Regions from separate parts of the Homo sapiens genome. Here regions 2, 3, 4, 5, 6 and 7 are each linked to region 1. The links are contacts of gene promoters, found by promoter capture Hi-C in blood cells and fetal thymus (Javierre and others, 2016). All regions are on one chromosome and are shown on one strand. Each heading gives the region's core, a stretch centred on a gene start or on the middle of the fragment in contact. The rest is flanking DNA. Distances are from core to core; before and after follow the strand shown. Region 1 holds the start of NEK7 (NIMA related kinase 7). Region 2 overlaps PTPRC (protein tyrosine phosphatase receptor type C). Region 3 overlaps PTPRC (protein tyrosine phosphatase receptor type C). Region 4 overlaps DENND1B (DENN domain containing 1B). Region 5 overlaps PTPRC (protein tyrosine phosphatase receptor type C). Region 6 overlaps DENND1B (DENN domain containing 1B). Region 7 overlaps MIR181A1HG (MIR181A1 host gene).

Region 1 (3,992 bases), core at 206-2,705:
CGCCTGGAGGGAGTGTGCATAGCCTTGAAACTGTAAATTCCTTGGAGGAGGAACTAGAAACAGTGGTTCCCATTATGATGGGTACATTAGGCTCTACAAACTATGGAAATGTGGTGTTTTCAATTGCATCCTTGAGCTCAGTAACCTCAAAGGAGAATAATCATTTTATTTCTGTGTATTTCTGATTTTCAGTTCAGTCACCAGAATTGCGCAAGGACAGTAACATGTATCTTACTGTAAACTAAGTATATTTTTTAGCATTTCTCCCCAGTGAGGACTACAGCAAGGTGAGAACACGATACATCATCTCTCCGCGACCCCAGTACGCTCCCAGTGCAAGACTAAATAGAGGATGCTGCGGTTTTAGGAGTGAAGGCCTACAGTGTAACAGAGGCAACAGAAGTTCTTTAGCTCTCAAGGCAGCATCCTCTAGGTTGTGCTCGCTTCCTTACACTGTTCTGCGGTCATACGGTCTTGTCACTTTTCTCTGTTTTCCTTTGGCTACCCTTCTCTGACTTTGGCCTCAGTTTTCAATTTCTTTTCCATTGCCACCATCACCAGCAATGTTCGCTATTGCCTCGCAATCCCTCTCTCCGACATTTTGTAATCCCGAGTCTCTCCCAAGTTCATTCTCCGACAGACCTCTCACGCTCCCTGTACTTCTGAAGCCACTTCGGATTCTCCCCTATCTGCCGGCTCCCACCACCCACTCTCTCCCAGCGCACTTCACTTTCCTAAGTCGGGCTGCTGCCGAATCCTGACAGACGGACTTCACCAATCCGCGAGAGATAAATAACCGACGTCGCCAATGAGCATCCGCCGGAAGGCGGGACTTCGCTTAAGTTCCTCGGGTCCCGAAACCAAAGACCTGTTGCCGCCGCCGCCGTGGCCACGGAGTTTCTTAGTTACCGCGGCGCCCTTGGCGGCCTCGGGCCTCTAGAGCCGGGGCCAGGTATGAAGTTTCCTGCCGCCCCCTCCCACCGCTGCCAACGAACAAGACCGAAACCCCCATCCGCCTCGAGCGCAGCGCGCCCCGCCCCACCTACCCCGAGCGAGGGTATCCCGGAGGCCGCCCCGCGCGGTCCCGACCTCCCTCTCCCGGCCCGACTCCCGCAGGCGGCCCCTCCCGGCAGGAGCTGCCCGGTCCGGGCGCCTGAACCCTGGGCAGCGACTCACCAGGAAGTTGGGAGTTTTCCGTTCTCCCGCCCGCGAGAGACCTTGGGCGGGCGGGTGGCTCGGCGCGGCGCCGCCGTCGGAAAGCGCGCTGGGCCGGGGGCTGAGGCTGCGAGGCCCGGAGCCTGTCGGCCACCTCCCGCCGCGCCGCCCCGGCGGACGCTGCAGGCGCGGGGCACCCACCCTGCGCACTGCGAGGCGCGTCCGGAGTGCGAGCCTAGCGGCGGCCCATCCTCCCGCGACTCCCGATCCTCCTCCTGCTGCCGCCGCTGTCAGGAGTGTAAACATCCCGGCATCCCCGAGGAGAGGGGCGGGGCGGGCGCCGGCCCCACCCCGCGTCGTGAGTCCAGGCCGGCTGCCCGATGGAGGCTTCCCGCCTGCGTCCCCGGCGCTCCCTGGAGCTGGGGGAGCCTCGGCGGTTTCCCTACTGGAGCCGAAGTCGCTCTGGAGGAGCCCCTCCTGGCCCCTCTCTTCCGGTTGTCAGGCCTAGCGTGGTGCGGGGCACCGCGTCCGGTCCCCTGAGCCCTCTTCCCCGGCTGCTTTTTAAGAACCCAGGGTCGGCTGCTTTTTAAGAACTTGTTTTTTCTTCATTTATATGTAAGTGCCCCCACTTGCAAGCGGTGAACCGACTTACTGATGTTCCCTTCTGGACCACAGCGTTTGTGATCCCATCTTCTTTTACCAGGTGATTTAAACTACCTCTGTGTTTAATGTGGAGTGCAGGGAAATGAGAAAAAAAAAAAAAGGCGTTTTCCTGAGTCTGGCTAAGCAAACGTTGCATGAAAGTGTCCCAGCATAGAGGACAGGGGCTTCAACAACATTCCAGAAGGTAAACTCCCTGGTGTGGTACGGAGGATCTTTGAAATAAATATGTGCAAAATCACCCAGAACCCTAGTACACGAAACTGCAAAAGGAATGCTTTGACACCAGCAGCTTCACGACTTAAGTTAACAGGGCATGAACTACTCGAGGAGACGGCTAGGAGGCAGTATGGAGTCGGCCATACCTTAATTGTCGTCTCAACTCAGTGATTAATTTTGTGACCTGGCTGCAAGTTATTTAACCTCTCCAAGTCTCAGTAACTCTCTGTAAAAGGAGATTAGTTGTAATACCAACCTCTAGGACCATAGTTAGAATTAAGTGAGATAAAGCAAAGTGCTTAACCACAAAGCTTGGCATATAAGACGTGCTCATTAAATTGTTGCTGTTGTTCATAGGTCTCTCACTAGTTTAACTTCCCTGACAAAAAGATTAGAGCCAAGAATGAGTAGATTATACCTCAAACATTTAAAATGTTAAAGCCATGAAATTAAGATCTGGAAAGTTTATTTTTAAAAAGAAAAATGGCCGGGCGCAGTGGCTCATGGCTGTAAGCCTAGCATTTTGGGAGGCCAAGTGGGGGGGGGGGTGATCACCTGAGGTCAGGAGTTCGAGACCAGCCTGGCCAACATGGCGAAACCCTGTCTCTACTAAAAATACAAAAACTAGCCGAGCGTGGTGGCAGGAGTCTATAATCCCAGCTACTGGGGAGGCTGAGGCAAAAGAATCGCTTGAACCCGAGGCGGGGAGGAGGTTGCAGTGAGCAGAGATCGCGTTACTTCACTCCAGCGTGGGTGAAAGAGCGAAAATCCGTCTCAAAAAAATAAATAAATAAATGAAAACGTTCACGATCTCAAAAGGAGGCCTTGATTCATGTGGCTCAACAAATATTCATAAATGGGCTAGGCAATGTTCTAAGGAATGAGGATACAACAGCTCACCGAGATATACAGTGCCTGCTGTCATAGAGCTTATATTGTAGTCGGAAAGGCCAAAAAAAAAAAAAAGCCAATAAATACCTACTATGCCAGATGGTGAGTCATAGAAAAATAAAGCAGGGTAGGGAGACATGGGGAGGGAGGATGCTATTTTAAATATGTTTGTCTGGGAATGCCTCTCTGACATTTGAGCAGAGAACTAAGGAAGTGAGAAATTAGCCATTTGGCTACCCAGGGTTAGAATATTTTACACAGAAGGATCAGCAAATGCAAAGACCCTAAGTGGAAGTGGGCTTGGCATGTTTGAGAAATAGGCAGGAGGTCAGTGTAGGCTAGAATTCAGTGAGCGGTGGGAAAGCAGCTGACTAAATCAGAAGAGGGAGTAGGGTACAAGAAGGGTATAGTTGTAGAATCTTGTAACCTTTAAAATTTATTCTGAATGAAAAGGAGAGCCATTGGAGGAGTGACCAAATCTGATTTGGGTTGGGAGAGAAGAGCTGCACTGTGGAGAACAGATTGAGCCTAAGAGCAACTAGATGTTAGAAGACTATTGTAATGATCCAGGTAAAATACATTGATGACAGACCAGAGTGCAGGTGGTAAAAATGGTGAGATTCCATTTCTAAGAGCAAACAAGATTTGCTGATGTATTGAATGTCAGGTAAGAAAGGAGGCAAGAACAAAGCCAATGAAATTGGCATTTGAACCAGATCATTTTATCAGGTCACACCAAATCAAATCTGTCAGTCAATAGAAACAGTGTCACTGGCGTCATACACAGGCACACATTGCAGGAAAAAAATAACCAGATATCCTTAGGGTAAAGACATGTCAACCTCAGACCAGACGTATGTGTAAGGTTTTTTTCTGTTTGTTTTGGGTTTTTTTTTTGTTTTTTGTTTTTTGTTTTTTTGGAGACAGCCTCTCGCTCTGTCACCCAGGCTGGAGTGCAGTGGCGTGATCTCAGCTCACTGCAACTTCCACCTCCCAGGTTCAAGTGATTCTCCTGCCTCAACCTCTTGAGTAGCTGGGATTACAGGCATGTGCCGCCACACCTGGCT
Region 2 (3,635 bases), core at 654-3,153, 570 kb before region 1:
CCCAAAATCCTAAAATGTGGCTAAAGGTGTTGATTCACAGTAAACACGTAGCACGGTGGCTGGGAAGTAGTAAGTACTAATTATTCACTATTCACAAAAAAAATATTTTTGGCTTTTGGTCATCTGCCAAACTCAGCTCTAGGTACTTAGGATATCTACATAAAGAAAAACAAGGGTCCTGTCCTCATGGAACTTACTCTCTAGTGAAGAAAAATAGATAATTAATAATGAACAGAAGAAATAAGTAAATGGTCATGTAGGTGAGAAGATATAAGGGCTGTGAAGATAAAAAGGAAGACAGTCCGTGGAAATGCTATAGAATATAAGGCAGAGATAATATTAGTTTTCAGGAAATTTGCATTCTCTTTGGGGGAAACAGACACTAGAAAGGTAACTGAACAGACAGGCGCAGTGGCTTACCCCTGTAACCCCAGCACTTTGGGAGGCCGAGGCGTGTGGATCACTTGAGGCCAGGAGTTTGAGAGCAGCCTGGCCAACATGGTGAAACCTCATCTCTACTAAATATACAAAAAATTAGCCAGGCATGGTGTGTGTCTGTAATGCCAACTACTTGGGAGGCTAAGGGATGAGAATCACTTGAACCGAGGAGGCAGAGGTTGCAGTGAGCCAAGATTGCACCACTGTACTCCAACCTGGACGACAGAGCAAGACTCTGTCAAGAAAAAAAAAAAAAGGAAAGAAAAGAAAAGAAAAAAGAAAGGTAAGTGAACAAATGAAATAATTATGCATTTTTTCATATACTCTGAAAAAAATAAGTAGGGTGATAAGGAAGTAGAGGGGATGTATTTTCTGTATGGCAAGTGGAGGCCTTGAGCATGAGACAGTTTTTCTACAACTGGAAAGAAGGAAATGACTCTATCAAGCAAACAGCTGCCAGAAACAGTTCATCTCATGATCAAAATTTCTGTAACTGGAAACTCATACAAACAGGAATATTGAAAGTAATTTCAGATACAGACTGTAAGACCTGAGCTTGAATTCAGGCTCTGTCATTTCTTTGACTCATAGGGCAAATAGATTAAATTATCCAAACTTGAGTTTCCTCATATATAAAATAGAAATAATTTTATCTCCTTTAAAGGGGTATTTATACTGCCGGCATATATAAAAATGGATGGGATACATGAATGTGAATATATAGGTGGATTGCAGTGAACATTTTTAGGGAAGAAGTTCTTATTGCAATAGGCTCCTAAAATGACCCAAAGTGTTCCTTGTCTTATCTCTATCTGAAATTCCTTTCACTGAAATTGTCAATCCATACCAGTGATTACTAGTATACATATATCAATCAGCATGATTGTTTCCAGATTTTGTGAATAAAAACCTCATCAGAGGCAACATCTAACTTCTAGAATACTCTGAAGTAAGATTTTGCAAGAAACTGCAAATGACTGTAAGTTAGCATTCCAATCCATAATAATTAGATTAAGTTCTACAAAAATATTAAGCAGCATCAGACTTTTCTCAACAAACTTAATAAAATAGCCAAGTCTTCAGATAAAGCTTGCATTCTAAGCACACATGTGTTTCCCCCTTCTTTCCAGGAACCCTGCTAATATTAAAAAACTGAAAATGCCATAGATTTATAATGACAGTGAAAATGAGAGAAGGGAAATTAGAAGTAGAGCAATTTCAACAAGTTGTAGAAGGTAGAAAACAAAAGAAAGGAGGCCACAGCCTAAATCAAAGGAATAGATTCCATTTACTCAGAATGCCTGAGTCTCAGGTTTGAAAGTGACATATGCAGTAAATGTGAATCATGGGTCAGAACATGGAAGTCAAATGTCTATTTACAAAAACAATAACAACAACAACAACAATAACAAAAAATATCTTCTTGAAAAAATACTACCAGGGAGGAGAAGACAAAAGGAAAATTAAATGAAAGCAGTGAGAGACTGAGAATAAAGTCAGGCTCAGTACAGGGAAGGGATGAGGCACAGGACTAAAATTAGGAGGACAATGTAATTGTCCACATATGCAATAGTTGGACACCTATCTTCCTGTCCTACTGTGAGAAGAACCACTTTTTCACACTTTACCACACAACAAGGAGTAGGGTAATTCTGGAGATTAATTTCTGGGGATTAATTAGTTTTTGGTGATAATGAATGATATCAGAAAAAAATAAATCAGCAATATCATAGGAAATCTCCTCAGTCACCAAGATCTTCTAAGGACCACAGAACATCTAATCAACCTTTCCTGTTGTCTCACTGTGACTATGACTAGACTACCAATAAGAACCAAGCTTTTAAGGAAAACATCAACACCAAAGGGGAATGCCAAAATAATAAGTCAACTTATGAGTTTTATGACTAATAGACTCAACCAAAGACTATGGGAAGAAAATGGAGCAAAGAATTCTCAGATATATAAATCTTCAGGTTACAAAGGTCAATAGCATCCAGAAAAAATGAATGAAAAAGATTCAGGGCCAGGCACAGTGGATCACACCTGTAATCCCAGCACTTTGGGAGGCCAAGGCAGGTGGATCATTTGAGATCAAGAGTTCAAGACTAGCCTAACCAACATGGTGAAATCCCTTCTCTACTAAAAATACAAAAATTAGCCAGGTGTGGTGGTGCCTGCCTGTAATCCCAGCTACTCAGGAAGCTGAAGCAGGAGAATCACTTGAACCCAGGAGGCAGAAGTTGCAGTGAGCCGAGATTATGCCACTGCACTCCAGCCTGGGCAACAAGAGCGAAACTCCCTCTAAAAACAAAAACAAAAACAAACAAAACAAAACAAACAAAAAATTCAGGTAAGACCAAGAATAAAGACAGAAACCTAGCATTTCCAGGGGAGGAAAACTTGGGAACAGACCAAAAAAAGAGAGAGAGAGAGAGAGAGAGAGAGAATCAGGATGGAATTAGAAAGTAAAATTGGATTCAGGAAAATAAGACAGAAATAATTTTTAAATTCTAAAATTTTTAACTTAGAATTTTATACCAAGTCGATACACTGAACAAGTGCCAGAGCAGAATAAAAATTTTTTTTGTATGGGAGAATTAGAATTATTTTTCTTACACTAGAGAACATATATCAGTGAACTCAGACAGAAAAAAAAATAACTATGTGTGATACAGCAAATCTAAACCAGAAAACTGATGGGGGAATATTTCAAGATGGCATGTGAGAGTCCAGATCAGAGCAAGAAGAAAGGGTCCCCAGGAGTTCAATTGACAATGATGTCAAAGTACAGGTGGTGGAATATTATGCCGGGGAAACCCAACAACACATCCCTAGTAGCTGTACCCTAGCAATTCACAGCCCAAGTCCTTTCCTGGAACAGATATCACTATTTTAAAAGAAACTATATTATTTATCTCTTAGGATAATGATATTGTGAGCAGAGAGTGAATACAATGTTGTCTCCTTTGTGGAAAAAGATGAGGGCTAATTTTTTGGCTCCGTTGACCTGGAAACCTGATAAAAGTGGAATATTAGCTGGTTACCAGACAACATTGCTAATGGCAAAATGACCCTTGATTGCTAAACTACACCTGAACAGGGAGTGCTATATGTGAACTCTATTGTCCTCATGGGAAGTACCAGCTTTGGGTTTCCCTGAGTGCAGTGCCCGCTCATAACTGAGCACACCCCTGTTG
Region 3 (3,955 bases), core at 1,021-3,520, 580 kb before region 1:
GTATTCCACCAAAGCCTGATGGATCAAGATGTACTGGGCCTACAATTTCAAGAACAAATACAGATAGTTAACTGATAATCTAGAGTCCTCCAAGTCATATTTAAATAAAATATACATTCCCCATAAATTTGCTCATATTGGAACAATTCATGGCAAAGTAAATTGATATCTATAATATTTAAATATTCTGGAAGTTCACTCTCAGAGTTTTCTGGAATATGAGCAAATTCTATTTTCAGATTATTTTTTCAGAAAAGAATTACTTTGCAAATAGATTATCCATGTACTCTGTATTGCACAACTTTTATTCCTAAAAACTAAAGAACATTGTATGTTACTTCCTTTAGTGATTATTGGGTCAGTAAGCCAAATTACTGAATGTAAAACTATAATAAATTTCACAGTATATTCAAGAGATAAAAAAGCAAGTTGTTATTCCTTAGAAAACCTTTTTTTATAGTTTTTAGAACTTAAAATAAGAAAAGTATTCTTTTAATAAGAAAATTATTTTTTTGTAATCCAATGGGCCAAACCCAGATTTAACTACTCTTTACTGCTTATTTTGTTTGAATCCAGTATTTTCAAGGAAATGGTATACTTCTGATAATCCTCTTTAACCGCCACCTTTAGTTCCCTGAGTTTGGCACTGTCTTTCCACTGTACTTTATTTTCCACTGTAAATAATTTCTTTTTACCTGGTTAACAATTTGTTTTTATGTTTCTACACTGCTATCTATGTATCTGTAATCACAAGCATTGTACATTTTCATGTTTTTTTTAAATCACATAAATTATATCTTGAATGTTTCGTATGGCAGCTTTACTCACTCATTGTTTTCATCTGAGCATCTCTCCAAACAGACAGACACAAACCTAGATCATTGCTTTCTACCACAACATAGCATTTGTTGTACAGAGAGTTCACATGTCCACATTTTGTCTTCCTATTCCCCTATTGATACATATTTACGGTGTTTCCATTCTTTCATTGATATGTATTTCACTTTTTTTTTTTTTTTTTTTTTGCTATTTTGACAATGCTGAATGCAATGCACATTCTTGCAAATGTTTCTAGTTGATGCTTCTCTTGGGTATATGCATATATGTGATTTTGCTGGGTCAAATACAGACATTTTCAGTAATTACCATCACTTACAATCACCAAATGCATAGCATGGGCCAGGGACTTGTTTAAGTGCTTTATTTGTATTACTTTTGTGGTTATAAGTCTGTGAGGTATTATCATTGTCTCCATTTTACAGATGACTTAACTGAGGTGCAGTCAGACTAAAATTACTTAATAAACAATACCACTCACCCTCGTATTAATAATTAAAAGCAAGATTTGAAACCTGTAAGTGTAGTTTCTAAAACCAGCTGTTGATTACTATACTATTCTGTCTCTTCAGTTTAATTTTATGAGATGATGCCAAATCTATTTTCAGCATTTTTACTTTTTTTGCCAATCTGATATATGTTAACAGTAGTTCATTATTTTAAAAATTATATATTTTGTGGTCATCTTTCTTCCACAGTACTTTTAGGCACTAATGAAAAATGCTTCTAAGTATTTCTGGTGATTACCACGTTTTAGTTTTCAGGAAATCATCTACTGTTTGAGGTTGTGAAGAATTTGGATTTTTAAAAAATATCATTATTATCACTTGGAAAAGATTTAAGTCCAAAAAACCAAAGTGAGAATAATCACTAAAGGTTAGAACATACCTCTACTTGAACCATCAGGCATCTCTGTCGCCTTAGCTTGACAACATAACCATAAACATCCACTTTGTTCTCGGCTTCCAGGCCTTCTAGCATGGCATCAATTCCGATATAGGTTCCTGTGCGCCCAACACCAGCACTGGCAAACCAAGCAAAAAAAAGCAGAGGCATGATCATGGAAAAGCTGTCAGGTGTGAAGCCAATATAAGAATCTAAGCTTCTCCCATAGGTTGTTTCCCAAAATAGCAATTGCCAAAGGGAAAGATGTCTCTAACAGCCCTAGGCAGGTGGATTCTGTTGGAGTTTTTTTGTTGTTGTTTTTTTTTTTTGTTCGTTTTTCCTACCTGCAGTGCACCACAATGGGACCACTGAAGAAATTGCTGAAGGCATTCACTCTCCTTCTCAGTTTGAGGAGCAAGTGAGGATCCTCAGGCACCCCGTGGTCTGGCCAGCTGGTGAACTGAATGTGAGTCACCTCTCTTCCAGTTGCTTTTTCTTTTTTCTAGTCAAGAGATAATATTTTCTTTGAGATGATTTTTTTAAAGCAAACTATGAAACATAAATAAGTGGAAGGGAGTACCAGTACAAAGTCTCCTCGTGTAAACATAAACTACTCAAAAGAGTTCATAGTTTCCTCAGGTGTCTTATATATTTTCTCAACCATGGTTGTGTTTTCCTTTCTAATCAATAACTAGTAGTTAAGATATTGTGCAGGACTTGCATGTACTACCCTGTAAGCAATAACTTAACAGTAAGGTAAGTAAGGTAATACTTTCTTTAAAAGTATAACCAAAATTTCTAGGAACTTGCATGCTGTCAAGCAAAAAAAACCCAAAATAAACATACACCATAAAAGTGGGGTGCATGGGTGGAAGCTTTTTGGATTTGTGTTTAAAATGATTTGGTAAAGGTCATTCTCACAACTGTTTAAAATACTTCTGCTTGATAGGCCAGCAAACAGAACTAATTCATATGTGAGCAAAGTCTGATTAATTATTTGATGAACATTGTATTCCTTAGGCCTTCACATGGTAGCATTGTCAACACAGAATGTAGAGAGACGACTGAGGAAAGTCAGCCCCAGATTAGAGCTCAGGTTTGTTCTAATTTCAAGGTAACCACCATAAGATGCATAAGTCATAATTCTATGGCCAGGTATAAAGAACCATCTACATTTAGATAACAAAAGAAACACACAAACTGAGTTAATTAACACCAGTAAACCCAGACTACAGAATGTAGCCAGATAGGCATCAATCTAGAAATATATCCTCATATCTATGGAGCAGGTGCCTTTGTGGCTTAGTCAAACAAGTGTTTGGCCAGAAACTATTGATAGGATTGTTTCACAGCACTCTATAGACATAACAATTAGTAATACCATGGAAACCTAAGAAGACCTACGGAGATATATAGACTAAGTCTGTTTCTCCTGTAGAAAATATAGCTAGACTATACAAAAATAAAATTTAGATTACTAAAAGCCCTACAATAAATGAAATTAAGAGAAAATCTTAACCCCCATGTAAAGACTTGTAGTTTTTTAAACAGCTCTATCAAGAGACATTTTACAATCTTGATAGGTTGCATGTATCTAGGAATTTATCCATTTCTTCTAAGTTTTCCAATTCATTAGCATATAACTGCTCATAGTAGCATCTCATAATCTTTTAAATTTCTGAAGTATCAGTGGCAATGTCTCTTTTTTCATCTCTGACTGTACGCATTTGAGTCTCCACTCTTTTTTCCTTAGTCTGACTAAAGGTTTGTCAATTTTATCTTTTTTTTTGAGATAAAGTCTCACTGCAAAGCCCAGGCTTGAGTGTAATGATGCAATCTTGGCTCACTGCAACCTCGGCTTCCCAGGTTCAAGTGATTCTACTGCCTCAGTCTCCCAAGTAACTGGGATTACAGGTGCATGCCACCACACCTGGCTAATATTTTTTTGTATTTTTAGTAGAGACGGGGTTTCACCATATTGGCCAGGCTGGTCTCAAACTCCTGACCTCAAATGATACACCCGACTTGTCCTCTTAAAGTACTGGGATTACAGGCATGAGCCACTGCACCTGGCCTGTCAATTTTCTCTTTTTAAAAACAACATTTTATTTCATTGATGCTTTGTATTTTTTTATTTCAGTTTCATTTATTTCTACTTTGATCTTTATTATTTTTTCTTCTAATTTACAGTTCAGTTTGCTCTTGCTTTTCTAGTTCTTTGAAATGTATCATT
Region 4 (3,806 bases), core at 1,087-3,586, 540 kb after region 1:
CATAAATAAATCCATGGTCTATAATTGTTAAATGGAAGTATTTGAATGCCTCCTAGTGGCATATTGTAGGCTCTAATTAAGGAATTTAAAAAGTAATACTTATTGAAGGAATACTATCATAACCTATTAAAGCTTGTAAGTACAAGGTAGTAAAATCCTTTAATGATAACATCCTAAGTGAAATCAAAATACATTATTTGCCATACAAAACTGATTAAAAACATGACTGGAAAAAATATAATACATATGGCAAAGATGCATATACTTTGAATAAAAATTTTTGGTTTTGGTTCAAATCGAGTTATTTTAATTTACTTTATGTAATGGATCTATTTTGCACTTAAACATAGACAAATGTGGCTAATAATAGGATTTGGATAGCTTTGTGTACATTCATTTTTTTAAATTAATTGTGCTTATCACTTAGTTTCTTTAAATATCTTTGTATAATAATAGAGAAAACGGTTTATAGAAAGTCTGGTTCATTTTCAGATTTTTTTTTAATTCTGATCTTCAAGTTGAATAAAATAATTTAATCGGTAACCTTGAAATACAGACTATAGCAAAACTTTAAAATGATTAAGAATGCTGATTTAATTATTGCTTTATGCATAAAAATGACTTTACATCTACAGAAATATAATTTAAAATGGAAAGAAAGTCACATTAAAAGAATTCTGATGAGGGTCAGAAGATGGGAGAAAAAAGTGATATCCTTTTGTTAAGTACTAAAAAATGTTTAATTAACTGCTTACCAAAACAAAACAATTAAAATGGCAATTACCTTTAAAATAGCAACAGTGTAATTACAGCTGTTGTGATATAAAGCTAGGAAACAAAATGTTAATCTGGAATGAACAGTTTAAATATGAAATTATGATATACTTGGCTTCCTGTAGTACAGCTGTCAAGCTTGGGCAGTTTGCTGGTCAATAGTGACATTCTATGTGTCAGTGAACAGAGTCTCTTGATACCGTAACCCGCAGTTCACACATTACTGAAGCTCCAACTGTCGAACATTCAAGTCCCCTGATATTATTGCAGCTTCCAGACTCTCCTAACTGGCTCATGTTTCATTCTTTGGCAATTTGCCCTAATGATATCCCTCAGGAGCTTTCAGCCTCTCTTCCTTTCCATATTTAATCATCTTATATTAATCTGAGTGATACACAAACTATGCTGTACAAATTGTAATTTCCTACAATTTTTCTAAGATGCACACCTAATTTTTCAGTTTTACTTTTACTTATGTTCTAAGTTTTCAATCCCAAACTCGGTATTTTCAGATGATTATAACTATCTACATGATTCCCAAGAAGCTTCTTTTGCTGTTTATATATGTTTCAGAGGGGCCTCTGAGATGTAAGACTTTTTACATGTAGAAGTGATAAAGACAATGTGATTTATGTAGTTATGTAAATTGTTCTGTGATTACTGTTCATTGTTGATACATTGAACATTGCTTTTTGTTTGGAAGGTCAGCAGCTACTTATTTTTGTTATCCTTTTACAAATTTCAGTTAACTGCCTGTATCCATGGATCAGCTGCTCTTCTATACCCAATGTATTGGCAACACATATACATCCCAGTGCTTCCTCCACACCTGCTGGACTACTGCTGGTAAGCTGGCTTTTGCCAGACTCCTTTAAGTTTAGGTTTCATGATTAGATTATCTGTTTATTTGTGAACTAGGTAAACTTGGGGGCATATTTAAAAGAAATCACAGAAACTTACATTTTAATAAATAGTAAAGATGGCTTTTATGAAGGACAGAATAATTCTGTACAAAGGTAGCGCAAGTTTATACCTAGCAAACATAAAGTTCTTTAGATTTTGTGAATTTCTTCTGCAGTCATTTAGATAACTCAATGCAAAATAGAAAAAAATAACAGTCTTAAGTTGTGTTAGGAAAACTGTATAGAAGTTATGGTGTCAGTTAGAGAACCCAGTATCCCAGGTGTCAGAATTTGTCTGGCAAATCTGCCAGCAACCACATTGTCTCTGTCAGGGCATACTCTTGTTACCTTTACTTCAGAATACACTTCTTTACCCCTCTTTTTTCAATAATAGCACACCAAATACCAAGTACTGATAAAGGGGTTGTCTCTAATACAAGAATTCTTGTTTTTTGTTTAAGTCAAAGTCTCAGCCTTGATCCACCATGAAAAGCAATGTTGAAAAGTATTGGGAGTAGTTCTGAAAAGTTTCCTGGCATTAGACACAATTCCTAAAGGATCCCAATAACCAGGCCTCTAGACCCTCCTTGTTCTCTTCACCTGGAAGAGTCTGCATATTTATCATGAGTCTAAACAAGGATTAGACTTCTAAATAGCAGCTTCTGGGCCTTCTTCAAGACTAGGGGGGGAAATGTTATCTTCATTGCATAATCATCTTCTGCAGGTATAGCCTAATTCTTAAGAAATGTGATGGGATTTTTCCTCTAAATCATTGTGCACACACATAGAAGGAAACAATTTTGACCTTAATGTGTTTGCTTATTTCACAGCTAATGTTACTAAAACACAGCACTTTTAGAATCAATGCACTCATTTAACTTTCTTATTTCATAAAAGGCAGAAAGTATTAAGGATTAAAAATGATTTAAGTTCATACACAGAGGGTTTCTATTAACTTTTTATGACTGAGCCTCTTCAGAACAAGTGATTGTAGTGACAACACATGTACTTGGCCACATATTGATTACGTTAATATATTGGTGTGTTTCCACAGCATGGTAATATTATTAGTATTGATAATGCTGTGAAGTAGGTGCCCAGTGACCTACCATTGCTATTATGCTGTTTGAGAACTAGAAAGGAGAAACTGTTTGGCAGGAAACTATAGGAATGTAGTTTATATTGTTAAGTGTCACACACACAAGTCTAAGAATAAAATAAATAGGCCCTTTGTTATTCATTTTAGAGTTTTCCTTTAACCAACATACCTATAATATTTTAGCATTCCTTAAAGGGAGGGTCTCATTTATTTATGTTGACATATGCAGTAGATCTTTGTATATACTGTTCAGTAATTAAACTTTATTTATTTAAAAATATATTTTACAGCAGTATTTGGAAATATATTGATATATGATTTTACATAATATATCTTTAGAATTACGTTTTATATATGATGTTAGTGCCATCTTAATTTTTCTATTAAAATGTTCTAACCTCTTAAGAGATAACACACCTTTAATTAAGTTCAATTATCTGTAATGAATTACACATTTAAGACTTTCTAAAATGTTATTTAGAAATTATTATATGACACAGGCAGTTCTGTACTAATTTTTTTCCAGATCTTTTCTAATCGTTTCTACCCCTGCCATAAAATTCAATGAAGTAAGCTTGTTTCATATTTCAGTCCCTGGAATTTTCTTTCTAGTGTCTAATGTCTGAAATAGCCTTTGGGTTGAGTTCTAAGAGCTTGCATGCCAAAAACCTCCCTGGTTCAAAGAGTAAGTCAGTGATATTCAAACAAGAAGTTATCTGAAACTTCCTGAACCTTAAGGTCACAATGATAGGCTCAGCTTCTATCATAGGAACGGAGTAATATAATATAATTATTTTTTTAAAGAATAGCCATCAGAAAACTTGGTAAACTAAACTGTTTCCTAGGGTAAACAGTTTTCTTCCATTTCCATCCTTGAGGTTAAAAAATCATACTGATCTACATGTAAAAGGGAAAAAAATTACAGATCATCCCTTCAATCTCATAGTTTTGATTAAATACTTTTTATGAATATTCCAGTTCAAAAATAGTGTCATGAAGATTTGATAGGAAAAGATATATCTTTGCTAACT
Region 5 (3,605 bases), core at 704-3,203, 550 kb before region 1:
CCTAAGCCCTCATTCATTCCTAACATGTCAGTTAAAGCCACTGAAATTATGCTAATGACATAGAATTTGGCAAGGATTGAGATTGCTATGGGAAAAGTCTAATAACTCTAGGGATTTGTTTCTTTTATTATTTACTTTATTATTTTTAGCACCATATATTTTGGTAGTGTTTCATTTATAAGTTATACCACGTTAAAAAATGAAATGCAAGCAAACATATTGATAAAATTGTAGCTTTCGCACATTTTAAAAAACACTCATTCCATTTTGTATTTTTGTTTTTATCTTAAATTTTTTGTTTACTCTTTACTTACTTTTAATTGAATGATTATTATAAAGTGTATTGGGAGTTTCCCTATTGGGAAATGCATTTTTAAGTATTGTCATCTTCTGTGTTTAATTGGTAATTTATCTCAGTAATATTTAGGGAAAATGAATAAATTAAATGGATTTTATTTTCAAAATACATTTGATGTTAACATATTTAAATGTTAACAAATTTATTAATAGTCTTGAATTATTAAATGATATGACTTTTTAAAAAAATTACACGGCTCTGGAATCCCTTTTCCAGAATGCATTTGGCTAAGAGATGCTTCCCCAGAGTCTGCCCGACGCCTGTCACCCCCTCCTCTTTCCAAGCAGTAGCTTAGCTGACAAAACCAACTTGATCTCACTAACATGACCATAACCTTCCTTTTTATGAATGTATTTTGGTTCTTCCCATACACATCAAATCCTTTATGTTTCTCCCTAATATATTTCAGATAAATTTGTACTTAAAAGAATAAATATATGTACATATATAATTAATACTTCATTTAAGTAGAGGAGAATAAAGAAAGCTTGCAGACAATCACTTAGCAGGATAAACTATATTTAGTGCACATAAACATCTCCCTGTTAAATAAGTAGAAGTGGTGATTAATGGATGTAAACAGAAGGCTTATTTGACTCTATCATTTTTACTTGGTTAAGACAGCAGAAAGTTCACCCACTTGTTTCCAAGGAATTTCCTTTCCCTCAGCCCTGTTCTCTCACCAGACTAGCTCCTGTGACCACTGGAGAACACCACACACAAAAGTGTACTGTTTTTATAAATTTATTAAAAGAAATAAATTGATATTTACCTGGTGGCACATCTAATATTAATGTCTTATCAGGAGCAGTACATGAATTATGAGATATGGAAACAGACGCATTTTTACATTCTGTAAGGTTATGCACCTCATTGTTTGTGCAAGTATTGTTTCCACATTCCACATTCTCATTAACATTTAGCTTTGCTGTAAATAATTTAGTTTCCTTGTTATATAAGTAATCCACAGTGATGTTTGCATATTTTTCATCTAAAAGAAAATAGAACATTGAGTGTTATTTTTCCAGAATAAATAAAACTACATTAATGCAAATGCCAAAATATCAAATCAACTAACCAAATATCCCCAAAAAACATGAAAAAGAAAAAACACATTAGGTGCCTCCATATCATTTTTTTCGTAATTATCTGTGCTTTACTGCCCTAACAAGGACCTCAGCTTGTAAATTTATATTTGGATGATTACCAGATAAGTGTCTGTCTTCCTAGCTGGACTTGGAACTTCCATGAGAGCAAAGTCTAGGCTATTTTTATTATCACTGTAAATTCAGGAGTATGCATAATATGTATCATTAATGGGAACTCACTAGTTACTTGTTGACTTGATGCACAAATAAATGATGCATTTGAGAAATTTATTCTTGCTTTATAATTTTCTTGTTTTCTAAAACGTAGTTATTAACCACCTGTTTCTTGATATATGTGGGGCATTAATTACTCAGGGATCAGAAGCCCTCATTCTTTCCTTAACTTGGGTAAAATTATGATTGATAATATACCTCCAAAGCACCTTTGTTTAGTGTCAACAATTTCTGCTGACTGATAAAAATATCTTTACAACAAATATAAATTTATTCATTTGTTTTTATTCAACAAAAATTATTAAGCCCTTGTCATATGTAAGACATGGTCACCAATACTAGGAATTCAAAGGCAAGTTAGATATAATCAGCTTTTAGAAATGTATAATCCAGTGTGGAGGCAGACACAAGCATGAATTGCAGGAGACATACAAACCTCTAAAATAAGATTATGCAGGAAATAATGTGGCACTAGAAAGAGAGAGATCTGTTCCATTTGGAGGTATAGGACAGGATTTCCAGAGAAAGTGACTTAGTTTGTGTTTTAAAATATGAGCAGGAAATAGAAAAATAGACATGGGGTTTGGGGGATGAGGTTGGAGCAGAATTCCAATTGTAGAGGAAGAGCAGGAGTGGCCACAGAGGCAGGAAGGAACAGTATGTGTTTACAAATCTGTAAGTGGGCCAGGCGTGGTGGATCATGCCTGTAATCCTAGCATTTTGGAAGGCCGAGTCAGGTTGATCACCTGAGGTCAGGAGTTCAAGACCAGCGTGGGCAACATGGTGAATCCCAATCTCTACTAAAAATACAAAAATCAGCTGGGCTCGGTGGCATGTGCCTATAGTCCCAGCTACTTGGGAGGCTGAGGCAGGAGAATCACTTGAACCCAGGAGGCAGAGGTTGCAGTAAGCTGAGATTGTACCACTGCACTCCAGCCCGGGCAACAGAGTGAGAAAAAAAAAAAAAAAAGAAAGAAAGAACTAACGAATGAAAGAAAGAAAGAAAAGAAAACTGAAAGTGGTTCCATATTACTTAAGTGAAGAACATAAGGAGGCAATGATTCAAGAGGCGGGAGGAGAGATGAATGACAACCGGATTACAAAAGATCATATTAATTAAACAGACATATGAAGGCCACTCTTTACACTAAATGTATGGAAAGCTACTGAAGGCAGTGACTCCAGTGGTTAGACTTAGAAATGAATGGAGGAATAAGCCCTGACCATGAAGAACCGCTTTGCTTCAACTGAGAATCAAGGAAGAAAATGAGAAAAAAAAAAAGAGAGACAAACTGTTTTCAAGTATCTGCTTTGAGCCAGCCCCTAACAAGCAAGACAGAAAGAGAGAGAAAAAGAGAGATTTTTCTTCTTGATAAGCTTTGAAGGTATTATCCACATTTTATATTTATCATCACACTGAATCCTTGTCCCCCTCCCCCTCACCAACAAACTTGCTGTTATTCCATTTTTTTTTCAAATACCTAAATTAAATTAAGTGGCTTTACCAAAGTTGTCTAACTGGAAAACTTAGTTTTCAACTTTTATTTTGGATTCCAGGGTTATATGTGCAAGTTTGTTACAAAGGTATATTGCAGGATGCTGAGGTTTGCAGTAAAATTGAATTCGACGCCCAGCAAGTAGGCACAGTTCCCAATATAGGTAGTTTCCCAACCCTTGTCTTCCTCCCTCCATCATCGCTCTTGTATTTCCCAGTGTCTATCATTCCCAACTCTATGTCCATGTGTAGCTAGTAATTTTTTACTAATTTGAGACTAGTCATCGGTGAGAAATTAGAGCCAGTGAGTTTAGCTTACTAGTGGGTCCTGAAAGCTTGGAATAAAGAAAGATGTAATTAAAGTGCTATTCCAAAGTGAGGTATGCTGATTCTAAGTAAATAAACTTACCACATGTTGGCTTAGATGGAG
Region 6 (4,019 bases), core at 447-2,946, 640 kb after region 1:
ATACAATTTGTCCAATTATATCCTGGCAAGATAGTTGAAGACAATGAAAGATGCAGAGCACTACAAAACTTGATAACCCCCACAGGACCTTCTAGACAGCATTCATAATTCCACTGGTCAGACACCTCATAATCATTTTGCTCCTTTCAGAGTCTTTTGCAGTTTTCCTGGAACTAGTATGTATGACACAATGTGCTAGATTCTGAGGGCACAAGAGATAAATTAGCAAGGCAAGGGGTCTGCCCTCAAAAGCCTACTGTACGGTGGGAGAGAGAATGTAATGGCATATAAATTAATTGGTGAGCAAGGGAGTGTTTCCTGGAAAGATAAACTCTTGAGCCAAGGTTTGAAGGATAACTAAAAAACAAACAAACAAACAAACAAAACATGGGGAGGCTGGGGGGAAGAGCCAGGAAGAAAGAAGTTTTGGTAGCATGTCAGCCCACGTGTAGGACAGAGGCAGAAGACATTGAGAAGTATACAAGAGAAGGAGACGGTTTAGTAGTGTGGAGCAAACATCTTTATGGCAGGTGAAGCCTCCAGAGAGGCTGCCATAGCCAGATCCCTCTGTGCAAGGCAAGTAGTATGAGCTTTATCCTGAAGACTGTAAGGGGCCATTGAAGGATTTCTTTAAATAGGAGTATAGCATGATTAGGTTTGCCTTTTAAAAAGATCACTCTGTCAGCAATTTACAGACTGTAACATTCTACAAGACAGAATAATAGAGACTCAATATGGGGTAGGCAGTTACTACGTATTTTTGAATGAAAATCGATGTGTATAGACAAAGACAGTGCAAAGAGGATAAATGTAAGAGAAAAGTGTTTCTTGTAAAGGAATCATATGCAAAGGTCCTGTGCTAGGACAAATCAGGACAAATATAAGGGGTTGAAGAAGGCCATGGTGATACCTTTGGTTAGAACAAAGGGAACCCTAGGGTGCAGACCTTGAACTTGCAGGACCTAATGAATGAAAGGCAAGTGAATGTCATTTATTCCTTTTTTCTTTTCATCAGCAAATAGTTATTGAGAAACTTCTGTAAGCTGCTATTCTGTACTTCCCCCAAGTAAGGCAACAGCCACATTTAATTATTCTCTGAATTTCTAGCATCTCTTTAATCCACAAACACCCAGTAAGCACATCCTCATTCATGCTACTACTGTCTTCCATGCTAGGAAGGCATACAGTAGGGTGCAAAGGGCACAAAGAAGTATGAAATTTGAATCCCACTTATAGAGAGCTCTGAGTGTAGTGGTGCAGGCAGACACACGAGCAGATAACACAATGAGATTAATAGTACATTTGCCAAATGTTTACCAAATATGTGGCCATACAGAGGAACACTTAGCAGATAAAGCTTTCCAGAGGCTACATTTGAGCTGGATGTTGAAGGATAAGTCACTATACCCAATTGTGTTAAAATAATGTATATATTTTTTATTTTTATTGTGTGGGTTCAGATTATTTTTCTCTATCATAGTCATTTACATTTCAGGTCCTGCATAGTTAATATGCATGTTTTTAATAATGATATGTCTGTGATTTGTTAACCTAGATGAAGATGTACTGTTACTGGCTGGGTATTGGCACCCTTAAGAATACACAATATGTTTTCTGCAGTCTAAACTTACTTACTACCATTTCCCCACAAAAGACCTTTATTTTTAAGATTGTGACCAGGCCTTTTTTCCCTGTGTTGTTATGTTCCGAACATGGGGAAAACTGTCCTTTATTTCCCCTGAAAGCACTGTGCTTCAGAGTCGCAACCCACCAGAACACCATCAGCTGCTGAGCTTGTATGGACCCAGATTATCTCTACTGCTATTCTTCTCTGTCTTAAATGTCGATTACATTATGATTATCTTTCTCCTTAATTTTTTCTCTTTTTTTGTGACCTTAACACAATTATGTAGAAGTCATCAAGCAATTGACATATTCTATCACCTGTTTGGACGTTGTTATTTCTTATATATAAACTGCAGTTCCTAATGCAGGTTGATATATATTCAATGACTATTAATTAGAAGAAGCTTATTTCATATATGTATATAATTTTAAGTACATAAGTACATGTATAATAAGTATGGATAACACAAAGGTCAACACCCAAGGAAAGGAAAACAACATATTAATCAGTTTTACTTCTGTTTATAATTTAATTGTAGTGTTAAAACTTATCATAAGATATACTGTTTAACATCCCTATATAGAAATGGATAGAATGCTTGTCTAGCTAGGAAACATGAAACTAAAATGTAAATGTATCTGTGAAGCTTATATCATGACGTAGATGTTTGATTGTGGAAAAAGCAGTAGCTTCATAAAAAAAGTTGGACTTAAAAAATAGAGATGCTATAGTATATGCAGACAGCTACAGAATATAAAGGTAACTTTTGTGGAAGAAAATGAACAAGGGACTTGCAACACAATAGGGAAAGACATAAGTTCTGTTTTCTGGTTCCTAGTTTTGATAAAGTGTGTGTGCTTGGGCAAATTATATACTTCTCTTGGAATAACTCCAGATTTATTGTAGGGTCCATTAGACTTAGAGCTGTTTAGTGTCAAAGGCTTGACTTAATTTAACTTCGTAGTATCTGTGTGTATGTGAGAGTGTTTTGCAAAGTACTCTACAAATATAAACACTGTTGAGTATGTATTATCTAATCTTCCTGTATTAGTTCTTAAGTAGCAGTGATTTTAATTGATAGCAATATAAAGTCTCAGCTTCCTCATAGACTTTGTTTCAGTTTGTTTCATTTGTAAACAAAAACTTAAATGCAGGACCTGCTAGCTGGTATAAAGCCAAGCATATACAGAGCTCAGTGTAATACTAATGGCTTGTCTTCAGAAACAAAGGATTGTATCATATTTTGTGAGTTTTGGAGAGAGTACATGAAATGTATTTTTCCCACAGAAATATTGCTGTGAGTGGTGGCTTTGTTCTTAGGCTACTCTGCAGATTTCTGTTTAACTCATGTACCTTAAACTTATAGTGATAAAGTGATAGGCCCCAGTTTTAGACAGTTAGAGGCCCCAGATACATTTCTAATCCCTGAACTTATGGAAACCTCACTACACATTCCGAGTAGGGGTTATAAGAGCATATTTTACTACTCATTCCTTCCTTTTTGCCACTCACAAGCAGTGGCATAAAGGGAGTGGAGTAGGGATCAGTCCTATAGGTTCCATAAATTTGCTTACTCTTTGTGGCTGCAATAAAAGAAGACAATTATCTAGATTGGGAACTCAAAATCAGAAGGCAGAAAGTTATTCCTCTCTGGTGTCATGGTTGAAGTCTCCAAATTCAAGTTTACTGTTGTTCATTCAAAAGGATGGTTTGCAGCCATAAGCACCCATAGCACCCAGACTCGAAATTTAAATGCCATTTCCCATCTACAGAAACCAGTGTTTTTTAGAAGAAATGGCTGATTCCAGGTTTGATGCAGAAAAATTCTAAGTTGAAATGAGACATCTTATTGTGCCAAAAACAGGAAACTTACTAAACACTTCTGAGTTTATGTCAAAGGACACAGGAATCAACTTGAAAGGGCTACCACTGGTAACAGATGGGGCCATTAAAAAAAAACAACTTTATTTTGAAAATTTCAAACATATGCAGAAGGAAGGAGAAGCTTACAAAAATCCCCAGAAACCATTTATGTAGCCTTCACCAATTATCAACTCATGGCCAATCTTATTTCAGTCACAGCCTCACCTATTCTCTTTCTCCACCATTAAATTATTTTGAAATAAATACCCAAAAGCATATCATTTAATCTGGGAATATTTCAAGTTATAGCTCTAAAAGATAAGGACTATTTTAAAAACATAATCATGGTGTATTTCAAAGATGGAACAATTTGAACATCAAGAAGAAGAATTGTGGTGGGTTGAACAACATCAAGTATCTACTAATAATGGGAATTTAAAAAAAAGACCCTCATGACTTGCCTTTAGAGATTGTTAGGACACTAGCTTAGCTCATCACTCTCAAAATTGTTAAAAGGAAAGAAATCAAG
Region 7 (3,604 bases), core at 203-2,702, 780 kb before region 1:
AGATGTGTTTATGGGGCAGGATGGGTATGTTTATCAAGATAGATGTAGTCAGAGTTTCCTGGTTCTAGGAAGCCTTATTAATATGCTGTTTGAACATTTGAAAGGTGGCTGAATTTCAATGATATAAATAGGATGTAGAAATGGTGAGCATTTTGAAATCAAGTTGGATAAAAATGCTACAATACTTCAATTTATTATGACTTGGTGTTTTTTATTCGCCACTTAACATTTTGTAACAATTAAATCCTTTTTACTTTTAACTTATTTCTTTAGGAGAGAACAGTTTTGTACCAATGATTTAGAAGTAATGCTCTCTCATGTGCTTTTATAAGGGTATATCTATGGATTAGATAGTAGTTGAATTAACTTTCGTGTGAGCTAGTTCAGGGTTTGTATTTATTTTCAAGTCTGTTTTATGGGTCTTATACTGGATAGTTACTCACCAAACATGTGCTCAGATTTTTATTAATGCACACATTTCAGTACATTATTTTATTTCACTCCAATAAAGTTTAATACTTTTACCAAAACATATTGCCAGATTTGAGAGGTAGATATAGAACAACTCTGTATACATTCTACCCCTTAACTACCAAGTTTTGATGTGTAATTTAAATTAATCTTCATTAGAATAGAATGACTGCTATACTTACCAGTTTTTACATACCACGTATCTGATACATGAGTTTTAAAATTTTGGAATTTGCTCTTAATACTTCTTCATTCTTGCGTACTAAAAAGCAATTAATCTGAAAGGAATTTCAAAGCATATATGTATAAACAGCACTACGTATATGTCAACAAATTAATAAGATTCATTTTGCCAATGTATTTTGTGACTGTTTTAAAACAAATGAAAAAATGTTTTGTTCTTTTTCTGCTTTCATGTTACTATTGTTAAGAAAAGTATGTAGCTAAAGAATTGACACATTTTGTACTTAGAGAAAACAAGCTACACAAGTTAGATGACAGTCTATAGGGTAAGACTCCACTATGAACTAATAAATAACTTCGTTAAGAAATTCTTGGCCTAACTCTGTAATTTTGACATAAACAGTTCTTCCAACATATAGTGGAAGATTGATGATTAATTATATAATTTCCTTATCAAAGATTAAAATGGGCAAATAGTTGTGTTTAAATTTTACCTACTTTCAAAAAACAATACATGACATTGCCCATTGGGTACAGGTTACTGAAAAGGCATCTTTCAAAGACAAGAAGATAATGGACTTGATTGAAATAGTTGAACTACGTAACGCCAATTCAAGAACAAATGGTTTTTCAGAGCATAACGGAGAAAGAACAATTTACTATAGTACAGTTTATTCTTCTTACACAATGGCAATGATTTATTTGAAATGGCAGAACAAACATAGTAGATATACAAAAACAACCAGTGGGCATTTTATGTCAAAGATATGTCAAGAGGCTTTTGTTTCATATATTAGAATATTTTAATCCAAGTATTTATCTGAAGACTTAGCTTAAATCTACATCGTTGTTTAGCATGTGCTGATATTATGATCATGTATGTCTCTTACATGCATGTAGCATATTTAGTATATATATATATGTATATATATATATAATGTATTTGAATATAGTCTTCTGACCCCAAATAATTGTTGTCACTTTATAATAAGAGTTCTTGAAGACTACTAATGTACTTCAATACAATAAAATTCAGATTGCGATATCAACTAGCTATGTCTATACTACCAGAAGGGCATTATCAGATATTGGATGAATTAATGTATTGATGTTATAATTACCACAAATACCTCATGTCAAAGAAGAATATCAAAAGATATGACTCTAATTTGACAAACAGTATAAAATGTGATTTTTAAAACCATCTCTGTTTCTTACTACCATGAAAATGATTTGCAAAAGAAGACTCAACACTTAAAATTTCTCTTCATGAAAAGAGAATTTTTTTTAACTTAGCCTTTAGGCATAGGGCCTGAAATTATTGTGAGTAGATACCTGAGCACTGTGCAGAGAATGCACAGGAACCTCAAGTTGCGATGAGAAAACAAGGGAAACTGGTTTGGCTGCTTTATGTTTCAAATTTTATTCTTGCAATCCTACATGACGACAATACTCAAAATTAATTTGAGTGAAAACTATCAAAGTTATTTTCACAATTTTCAAAAGATCCACTGTCTTGTTGACACTCTATGAAGGAAAAGTGTTCTAAAAATGATTGAATGTTCTACTGAGTGAAACTCAGTCAAGCTCAGTGAGGCGCTGGGGTCAAATGGGCTCATGAATCACAGATAGGAAATGAACTGTGTATTGCATATTTGAAAGTTTAAAAAGAAACATTTGGGATATTTTACCGTAAACAGATTTTGGTTTGATTTCTGGCACATCTTTTTAAACATCAAGACTGCAGTTCAGCTGAAATAACTTTTTATATGTATAGCTAAGACCAGATGGCCACGTGCTCCTTTCTTATTTAGATGAGACTTTTCCTTTCAATAACATCTTTCTTCCTGACCTGCTTAAAAATTCCAGCGAATGAAATCAGCACAGGATTTTCAATTCTAATTGACCATGTGCAGAGGAAGGGCCAGTAGAGAAATCAGTAGAGGCATTGTGAGGCTCACTGCCTCAGTTTTGTCTTTGTGTTTTACCATTACAAGCCAATCTAGACTAATCAAAAGCATTTAATTTTTATTAATATTAATATAGCTGCAAGATTTGTCTTCAATGAAAATTATTTGAGTTGGCTTTTTCTATCATTTTATCACAAGTAATTCTTTTAAGTTATTATTCGCTTACACAGTTTCAACTGTCTAGTAAGCACTTTATTGGTTAAAAAATAAAATATTGGTTGAATTAAGATGAAAGAATGGTTGTACTAAATTAATTTTTCTTGTTATTTAAAAAAACATTATTTTTGGAAGATACATATGCTTTTTAAATTTACCATGAAAATATTCACTATATAATATTCTTGGTTCATTATCTGTATAGTCATTTTATAAAGAAAATATTTTTATGTAAATTTTATTTGAACTTGGACCAGTAAAAAAAATCAAGAATAGAACGTGAGCTCCATATTCAGTATAGCTCAGCGAATTACGTATGTATTAAAAGTGGGCATCTAAGTTCCCAGAATTTTTTTCTTTTTGAAAAATTCTTGACTCAAATAATTATCTTAATTAATTACTGCAAAGAGTCAAAGATTTTTTTAAAAGACATTTATTATTCGAATGGTGAAAATATTAGATGAAAACAAGTTATCCAGACATATTGACATTTGTTTGCCTAATAAAGATAGAAAAAACCATAAACCAAAGGTGTATACTTTAAAAATATATAATAGAGTTAAGAAAAACTCCAAATTAATTATCAGGGTTTTTGAAGTGGTCTCAGGGCAACACTCTATCTGATTGGGTGTTCTTTGCTCATTCTTCATCAGGTACTTTATATCTCAAGCAAATCTATTAGTTGTCCAAAAATATGTGCTGCCTAATCATCAAAAGCCATGTTTTTTCAATTGTTTGAAAAGTGCAAGTCTTATGAATGATAAGATCAATTATAATTTTTTTAAATCAAAATTTCAGAGAAAACTGAACTGTATTTGTTCATG

The links. The method cuts DNA at HindIII sites, captures the fragments that hold promoters and counts their contacts. A CHiCAGO score of 5 or more calls a contact.
Region 2: a fragment that was not itself captured here is called in contact with the fragment with the promoter of NEK7 in region 1 in 5 of 17 cell types (activated CD4 T cells, naive CD8 T cells, non-activated CD4 T cells and 2 more); the score reaches 8.7 in activated CD4 T cells.
Region 3: a contact is called between a fragment that was not itself captured here and the fragment with the promoter of NEK7 in region 1, in 2 of 17 cell types (activated CD4 T cells and neutrophils). The highest score is 6.5, in activated CD4 T cells.
Region 4: a fragment that was not itself captured here is called in contact with the fragment with the promoter of NEK7 in region 1 in 3 of 17 cell types (naive CD8 T cells, total CD8 T cells and erythroblasts); the score reaches 5.8 in naive CD8 T cells.
Region 5: a contact is called between a fragment that was not itself captured here and the fragment with the promoter of NEK7 in region 1, in 4 of 17 cell types (total CD8 T cells, activated CD4 T cells, non-activated CD4 T cells and 1 more). The highest score is 5.3, in total CD8 T cells.
Region 6: a fragment that was not itself captured here is called in contact with the fragment with the promoter of NEK7 in region 1 in 1 of 17 cell types (erythroblasts); the score reaches 5.5 in erythroblasts.
Region 7: a contact is called between a fragment that was not itself captured here and the fragment with the promoter of NEK7 in region 1, in 1 of 17 cell types (non-activated CD4 T cells). The highest score is 7.4, in non-activated CD4 T cells.

What each region holds. Positions count from the first base shown.
Region 1 is chr1:198,154,461-198,158,452 of GRCh38, reverse strand. It overlaps NEK7 (NIMA related kinase 7), which reads right to left and starts at 1,455. Exons shown (of 10, transcript NM_133494.3): 1 at 1,177-1,455. RefSeq lists enhancers at 730-779, 2,210-2,269 and a silencer at 1,020-1,619. The HindIII fragment of the contact is 2,805 bases long and covers 1-2,347 here.
Region 2 is chr1:198,723,926-198,727,560 of GRCh38, reverse strand. The region is part of intron 15 of PTPRC (protein tyrosine phosphatase receptor type C); the gene reads right to left. Among named protein-coding and RNA genes, the nearest start is that of PTPRC-AS1, 59 kb to the right of the region's middle. The HindIII fragment of the contact is 748 bases long and covers 1,530-2,277 here.
Region 3 is chr1:198,740,138-198,744,092 of GRCh38, reverse strand. It overlaps PTPRC (protein tyrosine phosphatase receptor type C), which reads right to left. Exons shown (of 33, transcript NM_002838.5): 24 at 2,067-2,224; 25 at 1,726-1,861; 26 at 1-39. Among named protein-coding and RNA genes, the nearest start is that of PTPRC-AS1, 75 kb to the right of the region's middle. The HindIII fragment of the contact is 658 bases long and covers 1,942-2,599 here.
Region 4 is chr1:197,615,473-197,619,278 of GRCh38, reverse strand. DENND1B (DENN domain containing 1B) reads left to right here. Exons shown (of 23, transcript NM_001195215.2): 11 at 1,520-1,620. Among named protein-coding and RNA genes, the nearest start is that of DENND1B, 160 kb to the left of the region's middle. The HindIII fragment of the contact is 2,030 bases long and covers 1,322-3,351 here.
Region 5 is chr1:198,704,478-198,708,082 of GRCh38, reverse strand. PTPRC (protein tyrosine phosphatase receptor type C) reads right to left here. Exons shown (of 33, transcript NM_002838.5): 8 at 3,585-3,605; 9 at 1,131-1,349. Among named protein-coding and RNA genes, the nearest start is that of PTPRC-AS1, 39 kb to the right of the region's middle. The HindIII fragment of the contact is 2,212 bases long and covers 848-3,059 here.
Region 6 is chr1:197,514,290-197,518,308 of GRCh38, reverse strand. The region is part of intron 20 of DENND1B (DENN domain containing 1B); the gene reads left to right. Among named protein-coding and RNA genes, the nearest start is that of CRB1, 250 kb to the right of the region's middle. The HindIII fragment of the contact is 673 bases long and covers 1,360-2,032 here.
Region 7 is chr1:198,931,359-198,934,962 of GRCh38, reverse strand. All of the region lies in intron 1 of MIR181A1HG (MIR181A1 host gene), which reads left to right. Among named protein-coding and RNA genes, the nearest start is that of MIR181A1HG, 4.3 kb to the left of the region's middle. The HindIII fragment of the contact is 5,909 bases long and covers 1-3,604 here.